3 separate regions of the Homo sapiens genome follow, and all the other regions are linked to region 2. The links are contacts of gene promoters, found by promoter capture Hi-C in blood cells and fetal thymus (Javierre and others, 2016). All regions are on one chromosome and are shown on one strand. Each heading gives the region's core, a stretch centred on a gene start or on the middle of the fragment in contact. The rest is flanking DNA. Distances are from core to core; before and after follow the strand shown. Region 1 overlaps CHST11 (carbohydrate sulfotransferase 11). Region 2 holds the start of TXNRD1-AS1 (TXNRD1 antisense RNA 1). Region 3 has its middle 180 kb from the start of SLC41A2.

The links. The method cuts DNA at HindIII sites, captures the fragments that hold promoters and counts their contacts. A CHiCAGO score of 5 or more calls a contact.
Region 1: a fragment that was not itself captured here is called in contact with the fragment with the promoter of TXNRD1-AS1 in region 2 in 1 of 17 cell types (neutrophils); the score reaches 5.3 in neutrophils.
Region 3: a contact is called between a fragment that was not itself captured here and the fragment with the promoter of TXNRD1-AS1 in region 2, in 1 of 17 cell types (neutrophils). The highest score is 5.7, in neutrophils.

What each region holds. Positions count from the first base shown.
Region 1 is chr12:104,695,052-104,698,725 of GRCh38, forward strand. All of the region lies in intron 2 of CHST11 (carbohydrate sulfotransferase 11), which reads left to right. Among named protein-coding and RNA genes, the nearest start is that of MIR3922, 110 kb to the left of the region's middle. RefSeq lists an enhancer at 671-810. The HindIII fragment of the contact is 3,884 bases long and covers 14-3,674 here.
Region 2 is chr12:104,279,574-104,283,029 of GRCh38, forward strand. TXNRD1-AS1 (TXNRD1 antisense RNA 1) reads right to left here and starts at 1,270. Exons shown (of 2, transcript XR_007063431.1): 1 at 711-1,270. All of the region lies in intron 3 of TXNRD1 (thioredoxin reductase 1), which reads left to right. RefSeq lists a silencer at 2,498-2,792. The HindIII fragment of the contact is 3,745 bases long and covers 1-3,041 here.
Region 3 is chr12:104,773,901-104,777,232 of GRCh38, forward strand. No RefSeq gene overlaps it. Among named protein-coding and RNA genes, the nearest start is that of SLC41A2, 180 kb to the right of the region's middle. The HindIII fragment of the contact is 9,463 bases long and covers 1-3,332 here.

The sequences.
Region 1 (3,674 bases), core at 706-3,205, 420 kb after region 2:
GGGGGTTCTCCGAAGCTTGACACCCTGCCTTCAGATCCTGGCATCATCATTTGGCAGGAACACGTGTGGCCTTTCACAAGCAACAGGATTTCTTTGAGCCTCAGCTGTCCCATCTGTAAGATGGACATGGTGTTGCCTTCCCAACTGGCTTGCCCTGAGACTAAATTTGGAAATTGCCAACATTCCTCGAATGCTCCTTATGTGCCAGCTATTGTGGGGAGGGCCTCAGCTCAGCCCCCTCCAAGGCCTGATAGTTTGAAGGCACTGAGGTAGAGGTTTTGTGTCTGTTCCTAGAATTAGGCAGTTTGGTTCCAGAATCAACATCCTTAACCATTAGATGACACTGTCTGTGAAGAGAAAGAAAACTCATGAAAACACAATTCACAACACAATGAGTGTGTGTGTGTGTGTGTGTGTGTGTGTATGTGTCCTTGTGGTTTGCTTATTGAACAAGCATTTCCTGAGCACCTACTTTGTGCAAAGCCATGGAAACATAAAGATGACTAAGGCACAGTTCCCAGCTGCAAGCGGGGAGCTTCCAGACATTTCTATCTTACCTCAGAGCTAGTGATAAGAATAGGTTCCCTCACTCTCACTTCCACCCAGCATGTGCCTTAGCTTACAATTGATAGATTTTTTTAATTCTGTGACCACAGAGCTCTTTGCCAGAAATGGGGGCGGGGGAAATCCATTACCCAGAAGCGGCCCCAGCTCCCCCTTCACAGCCCTCCTTTCTTGTGGGTAGCTGGCATTGCCACGTACAGAGTAACTTGGACGTGACGCTTCACCGTGAAGTCACACTCCTGGCCTGCTGGGAACAGTGGGGCAGCCCTGGAGGAGCCAACCCGATGAATAACGTTATTGGAGGTGTCCATATAAAGAGGACCTTGTGTAAATAAATGATGTGACCCTCCCACCCCCACTTTGGCAGGGCTGCGGAGCTGAGAAAGGGAAGCACAGGAAATGTGTTTATTTTGCCTTTGCTGAGCAGTCGTTCTGAGGGTACACAATGCAACATTAAACCCCAGGGGAGCCTCCTAGGTATGTTAACTCGCCATCTGCATGCTCCCTTTGCTGTGCAAAGAGCACAGAAATGGTTTCCAAGCCTTCTGTTTGGCTCCCACCCACCCTACCTTTTTTCTTTTTTCCTTTTGTCTACTTGGGAAATTTTTGAAGATAAAGTGCAGCAGATGATATAATAAACACTTTTTACTCACCATCCTGAATTCACAAATGTAACATTGTGGCATATTTGCTTCAGATCTTTTATAGATCTGCCTATATAATAGAAATAAACCATCAGGGTCAGGCACGGTGGCTCACGCCTGTAATCGCAGCACTTTGGGAGGCTGAGGCGGGCGGATTACTTGAGGTCAGGAATTCAAGACCAGCCTGGCCAACATGGTGAAACCCCGACTCTGCTAAAAATACAAAAAAAAAAAAAAAAAAAAAAAAACATAGCTGGGCGTGGTGGTGCACACCTGTACACCTGTACTCCCAGCTACATGGGAGGCTGAGGCAGGAGAATTGCTTGAACCGGGAAGGCAGAGGTTGAAGTGAGCCGAGATCACGGTACTGCACTCCAGCCTGAGCAACAGAGTGAGACTCGGTCTCAAAAAAAGAATAAAATAAAATAAACAAACCATCACCAAGGTAGAAATCTCTTTTGAATCTCCTCTTCTCCCCTTCATCCCTGCCTCTCAACCTCTTATGAATTTACAATATAAATTCCAGTGTTTGTTTTATACTGTGACTCCTATATCTGGACCCAGATACAATATGCAACACAGGTTTATGTTTTCATAATTTATGTAGGTGCTATCATACTGAATATATTACTCTTCAATTTGCCTGTTCTGTACAACTATGTGTTTTGATGTCCAGCCCTGTGGATCCCTCAGTCTGTTCCAATTACTGTATCATGTTCCATCATATGATTATATTGCATTCTATTTATGTATCTACCTATAGGTAGACAGATAAATTGCTTCCATTTTTTTATCATTATGAATAACATTGATCAAAGCATCCTGGTGCATGTCTGCCTTCAGATGCACAAGTATAAGTGTGTCCCTATAGTGTGTGTCTCAGGACACCCGCCAGCAGTGGATGGGGACCCCGATTTCCCTGGGTCCTCCTCACTGCTTCGTGTTGACATATTGTGATAGTTAATTTTTTGTGACAATGTGACTGGATTAAGGGATGCCCAGATAACTGGTAAAACATTATTTCTGGGTGTGTCTGTGAGGGTGTTTCTGGAAGAGATTAGTCTTTGAATCAGTAGACTGAGTAAAGAAGAGCTTCCTCTCCAGTGTGGCCGGGCATCCTTCCAATCACTTGAGGCCTTGGATCAAACAAAAAGGTGGAGGAAGGGCCAATTCTCTCTTTTCTTGAGCTGGGACGTCGGAGCTCCTGGTTCTCCGGCCCTCGTATCCAGACTGAATCTCACCACCAGCTTTCCTGGTTCTCCAGCTTGCCAATGACATATCATGGGACTTCACAGCCTCCATAATCACACGAGTCAATTTCCATAATAAACCTCCTCTTATATATGTCTTATATATCCTACTGATTCTGTTCCTCTGGAGCACCCTAACACACAGATGTTTTGTATTTCTTCCCAACTAAGTGGCCTCTCCATTGAAAAAAATAAGAAAATTTAAAACAAGGAGCTTGCTCAGAAGTGGCATGACCTGCCCATGAAAAGGAATGCTTTGTAAATCCCAGAGTTCAACATCATCTTTCCTCAGGGCTCCTGGAGATTCTGGACTCAGGAGCACTTTTCTTTTCTTTTCCTGGGACCATGCACAGTGGCATGGCATGTCAGCCTTTGCCAAGTAAAGGGCGACTTCCTATGGCATTTTTGACCAAGTCTTGACTTTCTTACCTGGGTCATTTAAGAATATTTGGGCCTCTTCTCCCATCTGCTGTCAGCACCTGGTCCAAGCCTCATTACTCATCTCTTGCCTGGATGGGTGCCCTGTGTCCTTACTGGTCTCCTGGCGTCAATGTCCCCTAGTTGAATGCATCAGCATGTTTATTTCATGCAGTCACATATCAAGCCATTTATTCATCCATCATTGACTGGAGCCCTGTTCAGTGCACCCCTGTAACTGTTGCTATGGCCTCTCATTACCTGCAGAACCCAACCCAAATGCCTTAGCCTGGCCATCAAGGCATTTCATCATCCCAACCTCAACCCATTTCTCCAGCATCATCTCCATCTTCTCCACCTCCTCACCCACATGACTCCAAGCACTTGATGACAATGTTCTTGCTCCCTCTGCCAATGTTCCCTGTCTCTACTTGTGAAACACTTTCCTGTCACCTAGAAGTCACTTGGTAAGCTCAGTTCTTACCCAGGGAGCTTTCCTCGGGCTCCAGTGCAGGACTATCTTTTTCCTTGTCTGCTTCCGTAGAGTTATCTACCTATCATCACCTGTCTCTTCAGCTACAGTGCGCGCTCTGTAATTCCAAAGTTCTCACCCATCTCTGTAGTCTCAGGGCTAAGGGCTGTGTCTGGTATACAGAAGGCATTCAATTAAAGCATATTGGTGAATGTCTCCTGACCTTCCTTCCTGCACTTACCAGCTCGGCATAGGCAGTGCTACCACTCAACTGTCTGTTATCTGTTAGAAAGTTTTTCTGCTGAGCAAATTACTGGAGACATGATT
Region 2 (3,456 bases), core at 20-2,519:
GGCTTTGCAGTTAGTAATAGAACCTGGATTTGACTTCAAAGTCTACACTGCATAATAAGGGTATATTCAACAGACTTTGGTTCTGCAATTATCTCTTTTTGCTCCTTCTTTGGAAATTGCCAAAGTTCCCTCTACTGGATTATTCCTTTAGCATAAAAACATGCTGTAATAATTTCCTTCTTAGACAAACCAAAAAAACCAAAAAGTCTGGCCAGGCACGGTGGCTCACCCCTGTAATCCCAGCACTTTGGGAGGCCGAGGAGGGTGGATCACGAAGTCAGGAGTTGAAGACCAGCCTGGCCAACATGGTGAAACCCTCTCTCTACTGAAAATACAAAAATTAGCTGGGTGTGGTGGCATGCACCTGTAGTCCCAGCTACTCGAGAGGCTGAGGCAGGAGAATTGCTTGAACCCAGGAGGCAGAGGTTGCAATGAGCTGAGATCGTGCCTCTGCACTCCAGCCTGGGTGACAGAGTGAGACTCTGTCTCAAAAAAAAAAAAAAAAAAAAATTCCTCTATCCTACATCCCTCTTTAGCTCCTTTCCTATTGTTGTTTTGTTTTGTTTTGTTTTTATAGCAAAACCCCTTTAAGAGTTGCCTATACTTACTCCCTCCATTTCCTTATTTTCTGTTTCTTGCTGAACTTCTTCTAATTAGGATTTCTTACCTACCACCATTTTCATAAGTGACCTCCATGACTCAGCCCTTACCTTATAGGATTTCTTGGCAGTGCTTGAAATAGTTGATCTTCCTTTTTGGAGCACTTCTTCATTGGCTTCTGAGACACCACACAGTCTTGGTTTTCCTCCTACCTCCTGCCAGCTCCTTCTTAGGCTCCATTGCTGGGTTCTTTTCCCCTTTTGCAGTTTGAGCGTGCCAGGGCTCTGTCCTGGGCCATCTTTATTTCTCTAAATACATTAACTCCTGGGTAATTTCATCTAGTCCCATGGAGTGACAGTTAATTTTATGTGTCAACTTGGCTAGCATACGGTGCCCAGTTGTTTGGCAGATAAAAGCATAGATGTTGCTGTGAAGGTATTTTTTAGATGTGACTTACAATGAAATCAGTAGGCTTTGAGTAAAGCTAGTGACCCTCCATAATGTGGATGGGCTTCATCCAATTAGTTGAAGACCTTAGAGAAAAGATGGAGGTTTCCCAAAGAGGAAGCAATTCTGCACCCAGACCACCGTTAGTCTCAAGATTGCCACATCAATGCCTGCTTGAATTTCCAGCCTATCAGCCAGCCTTGGAGTTTTCAGACTTATCAGCCCTCACAACTGTGTGAGTCAATTCTTTAAAAAAAAGAAAAGAAAAAAATCTCTCTATATATACATGTATCCTATTGGTTCTGTTTCTCTGAAGAGCTGTGACTAATACACATGGTATTAAATATCTTTTATGTTTGACACCAAATGTTTATTTCTAGCCTTGACTTCTCCCTTGAACTCCATACTTACATATCCAACTGCTTAGTCAACCTCTCCATTTGGATAATAATAGATCTGTTAACCCATACTATGGATTTGTCCCAAACTATTGTTTTCCCCCACCTCCCATCTTTCTTCCTCCTCTCTGGGTGTTCCTGCTTTTCATTGAAGAGTGCTATTATTTACCCCATTGCTAAAGCCAGAAATCTAGCGTTATCATTGATTCTCTTTCTCTTACATCTCTTATTCCATCCATCTGTACAACTGTACAACATATATCTGTGCAATTAGCTTTACCTTCAAATGTATTTTTTAACCTCACTAATCAGCCTTTATCATCTCTAGCTTGGACCAGGACAGTAACTTCCTAGCAGGTCTGTATATCTCCATATCTCCACTTTTTTTTTTTTTTTTTTTCTTTTTGAGATGGAGTCTCACTGTGTCGCCCGGGCTGGAGTGCAGTGGTGGGATCTCGGCTCACTGCAAACTCCGCCTCCCGGGTTCACGCCATTCTCCTGCCTCAGCCTCCCCAGTAGCTGGGACTACAGGCGCCTGCTACCACGCCCGGTTAATTTTTTGTATTTTTAGTAGAGATGGGGTTTCACTGTGTTAGCCAGGCTCATCTCAATCTCCTGACCTCGTGATCCGCCCGCCTCAGCCTCCTGAAGTGCTGGGATTACAGACATGAGCCACCGAGCCCGGCCATATCTCCACTTTTAAGTCCCTGCCCTCCTTAGCCTATTTTCCACACAACTGAGCAATTATTTTATCATACAACAATCATTTCCTTCTCTTCTCTTCACACTCTGGCATCTTACCACATTTAAAATGAAATCCAAAATCCTGACTATGGCCTGATGATGGATGTGACCCCTGGCTATTCCTCTGACCTCACTTCCTACCACTTTTTTTCTCACTCATTAGGCTTTAGACATACTGGTTACTTTGTGGATTCTTGGATAAGTCAAGCAGACTCCTAGCTTAGGGCTTTAGTATGTTGAAGCCAGAATAAAAATGTGAGACAAGTCTCTAAATTAAAATTTTTTATTTGGAAAGAAAGAATAGCAATTTGGGGCATATATGCAGACAGGGTGGTCTTCAGTATGTCTGAAGAACAAAGAGAAGGTTAGAGGTTTTAGAAACAGGAGAGCTGTTACATATTGCTCTTCAAGAAAGTTCTTTGGGACTAGTTAGGGTTTGGGGAGCTAGCAAGCTCTGGTGAGTGATGGCAGTGGGCAAAATTAGTCCTAGAGTTTCAGCAAGTTCTCTTAGCATTTATAGATAAAGCTGGTCTCAGGTTACAACAGGCAGTTTCAGCAGTCAGGCTTGCAGAGAATTACATTCTTGGAGCAATGTTTTGTACCCTGAGTGCTTTTCCCCCTAGCCCCTTGGCTCTGATTTAATTGGGAATGACAAGAATGACCCAATTTTATGATCAGCTTTCACAAGTACCTCCTCTTTCCTCTGCTTAGAAAGATTTCTTCCCTAGGTACTCTCATGGCCTGTTCCCTCATAGCACTGTGGGCTCTGCTCAAGCATCACATTCTGAGATCTTTCCTGACTTCCCTACCCTACTTTATTCTTCTTCAAGGTACAAAGAACTCTTTCAGAAAAGCTTTGTGTGTGTGTGTGAAGGAGAGCAATGAAATGGGGTGGTGGTAACTGCAAGGGTTGGGGCACATGGGATCATGAGAGCCTTTTCTTTCTTTTTGGGAACAGTTTTGCTCTGTCATCCAGGCTGAAGAGCAGTGGCATGATCATGGCTTACTGCAGCCTCAAACTCCTGGGCTCAAGTGATCCTCCCACCTCAGCTTTCCAAGTAGCTAGGACTACAGGCAGGTACCACCACACCTGGCTGACTTTTATAATTTTTTTTGTAGAGACAAGGTCTTGCTATGTTGTACACACTAGTCTTGAACTGCTGGCCTGAAGCAATCCTCCTGCCTCAGCCTCCCAACATGCTGGGATTACAAGTGTAAGTTACTGCACCAGGTCGGGAGGCTTTTTTAAAATGGTAAAACAACAATG
Region 3 (3,332 bases), core at 129-2,628, 490 kb after region 2:
ACTCCCGGCATTGTGTAACCTCTGGGAAATATTTTTCATATAGCACCTCAGCAATTGTCCTTTCCTTGTAAGTTGTTCTCTTCTGGCCTTGTAGGATTTTACTCTATGCATGCACTTACTGGCATTCATTCAAAGACACAAAAGGACCTCTATCCAAATTTCTGATGCTCTTTCTTAGTGTAGCTCTCTTCACTTGCGTACCCTGCTCTGCACCTAATTCTAGCCACCTAGGCATTTCAGAATTTCAGTCTAACTCCTCGACTCAGAGAGACTGTATGGAATTTCCTTCTGTGAACCACAGTCTGGTAATTACCTCAGACAGAAAGTCTTGGCAATGTGGACCTTACCTCCTTTGTTCCCTTTTCTAAGGAATCATAGTTCATTTCTGCCTGTTGTTCAGTGTCTGAAAATTGTTATTGTCTATATTTTGTCCATTTTTCTAGTATTTTATTGTGGGAAGTTAATTCTGGACTGTCTTATCCTGTCATAGGTGGATGCAGAAAAATGCCTGTTTTAATACCTATAGTTAAGCCAACATCTTATGGTTATTTAGTTAATCCCTTAACACTAAGAGTTTAGTGTTATTTCTCTAGTTTTAAATATTATGTTTCATAATGCTTTTTCTAATTATTTCTATGTAAAACATTATACCTAGTGCCAATGAGAACATTATTATTAAAAATGATTTTTTTCCTTTAGAGGATATTTTCTTAAGATTTAGAGTTACCAAAACAAAGGATATGAACAACTTTATAGTTCTCATTGCAGTATTTCCTGATTGTCTCCAGAAAGATAAGACTCATTTACAGTGCCTCTAGGAGTATGAATACATATTTCTCCTGATTGCTAGCATTGGACTTTATCACTCTAATTTATTTTCATTAGTTGAACCCGTGAGTAATGGTGCCTAGAAGATGGTTCAATTTGTTATTTTTTCTCATAGTGCTAGGAGTGCATTTTCTCAATAGATAATTAAATGTCTGATTTTTCTTGTATATAAACTATCTGTTCATCAATCTTGATGATATAGCAAGTGGAATTATGGTATTTATATTATAGGACCTCATTACATTTGGTAGAATTGTACGCTATTATCTGTTGTGTTTTTCACATAGCTTAATCCCCTCTTTTAGTTTACAAGTAACTTTCATTTTTCAGTCTTCTTTAAGCAACAGATTGTTAGATTTTGTTCTTAATTCTGTTACTGGTTCCTCTTCCTCCTCCGCCTCCTCCTCTTCTTCTCATCTCTTCTTCTTCTTCTTCTTTTTTTTTTTTTTTTTTTTTTTTGAGACAGAGTCTTGCTCTATTGCCTAGACTGGGACAATCATGGCTCACTGCGGCTTCAGCCTCCCTAGCTCAGGCAATCCTCCAGAGTAGCTGGGACTACAGGCATGTGCCACCACACCTGGCTAATTTCTTAATTTTTGGTAGAGATGGCATTTTACCATGTTGCCCAGTCTGGTCTTGAACTCCTGAGCTCAAATGATCCACCCATCTTGGCCTCCCAAAGTGCTGGGATTACAGGCGTGAGCCACCACTCCTGGCCTGGTTCTTCTTTATCCAGAGGATTTTATCTTTTTGGCTTAAATATAAGTTGATATATTTATGCTTTTTACTACTTCCTAAGTCTATTTTTAAGGGCTGCTATGGCCTGCTTTCTCTTTTTATTTGCATTGCCACTGTAGTAAATTTTAGCATCTTGATTTCCCTTCATTCTGCACTCCCAATCTACTGGACTCTAAATTCCATGTCTGTGTTGTGAAACCATGTCTGTGTTGTAACTGCCATATTCTCAGTATCTAGCACAGTATCTGGCACATTGATGTATTCATTTAAAAATAATTACTGAGACCCTGCCGTGAATGCCATGGAGACCAGGTATATGTGACTTAACCCCAGTAATCAGCTCTTTTCAGGAATCTAGTTTTATCTTGTGCTTCTCATATTTTATTGTCTGTTTTATAGTTATTAATGTTTCTTTGTTAACTGTGCCCTCTGGGGATGTCCTAGACAATTTCTCTTTCAGAAGGGTTTTCATGTAATTCAAATCTGCCTTGCCCCTGATGGAAGTTCTTGCAGCTGTGGGATGTGGGGTTGACAAATTATTTCAGTACCTCTGACATATCTCATATTAGCTCATAAAAGGTCAACCTGGCCTAGGTTAAAGGTCAAGCAAAAGGCCAATCAGACCTTGAAAGGTCAACCTGACCAGCCCTGCAAGGATACTGACAACTCCATTTCTCTTAGTTTTGTATGTTTTCCCCGAAGCCTTCCTTTTCTGTTCTCTATAGTTTAAGGGGTAAACTCCAGATTTGTTTTCTTCTTACATCTCTCAATGCTTCCTTTCTTTTTAAATCCTTAAAAGAGGCTGTCTTTAATTCTGATGTCTAAACATTGACCAGAAACTGTCTTTCTTAGAATGTTACTCTTCAATTTTTAAATTAATGTTATTCTTTAATTTTTTGAATGTGGATTTCTGTCATTCTCTCCCAGTGACTGAATCAAGATTGCCATTCAGGATAGAATACGGATCTTTAATGATTTTCTTGGCCCTAGTGTATCCCTTGAAGCCTTAGACACTGTTGGGATCTGCTTGTCCTATTCTATTTAATGAGTTCTTCCCAGGACTCCCAAGATCTGTCCATTTTTCCTGCATTCTAGTCTCTGTGTCTGCGATTTGGTATTGATTTAGGTTGCTGTGCAGGTGCATCTCCCACCTTATTGACTAGCTTTTTGAGCTGATGCAATAGCATCTGTGTAAACTTTTCCAAACACTTGGTTCAAATGAAATCTTATGCAGAAGTCCAATCTGAAAAAAAGGCATACCCAGTGCTGCTTTGGTCATTGGTGGTGGTGAGGGAAGAGGATTGAGAGGGTATGGAGCCCTTCCAACTTCTCCATCCCCCATCGCCATAAGTCCCCAAGATAATTCTGAGAACCCAAGGATTCCAGGTAGTTTTACTCAAGCTGCACTTGCATCAGGTCTGCTTTCCCACCTTGGTTTTACGTCCTAGACACATTTATAAGCCTGAGTTCTGTCTTTCATGTTTGCTCAACTTCCCTTTTTAATACTATCATTTCTTACTTAATATTTTACATTAACCTATGTCTTATCCCTCATGCTTCCTCGAGGGTCTTTAGAAAACTAGGCAGATTTGGTTAATTTTTAAAACATCTATTTACACTTAGGGATTGTGAAGAAGCCAGGAAATAAGTGTTTTGGATTTCTAAAATACACATATGGGCATCTTTTTATTTATTAACAGCTTTTATATGTTTTCAATATTATTCCTTAAAGCAGCTGTTTCTTTGAGTTCTCTTTCACACCTGCC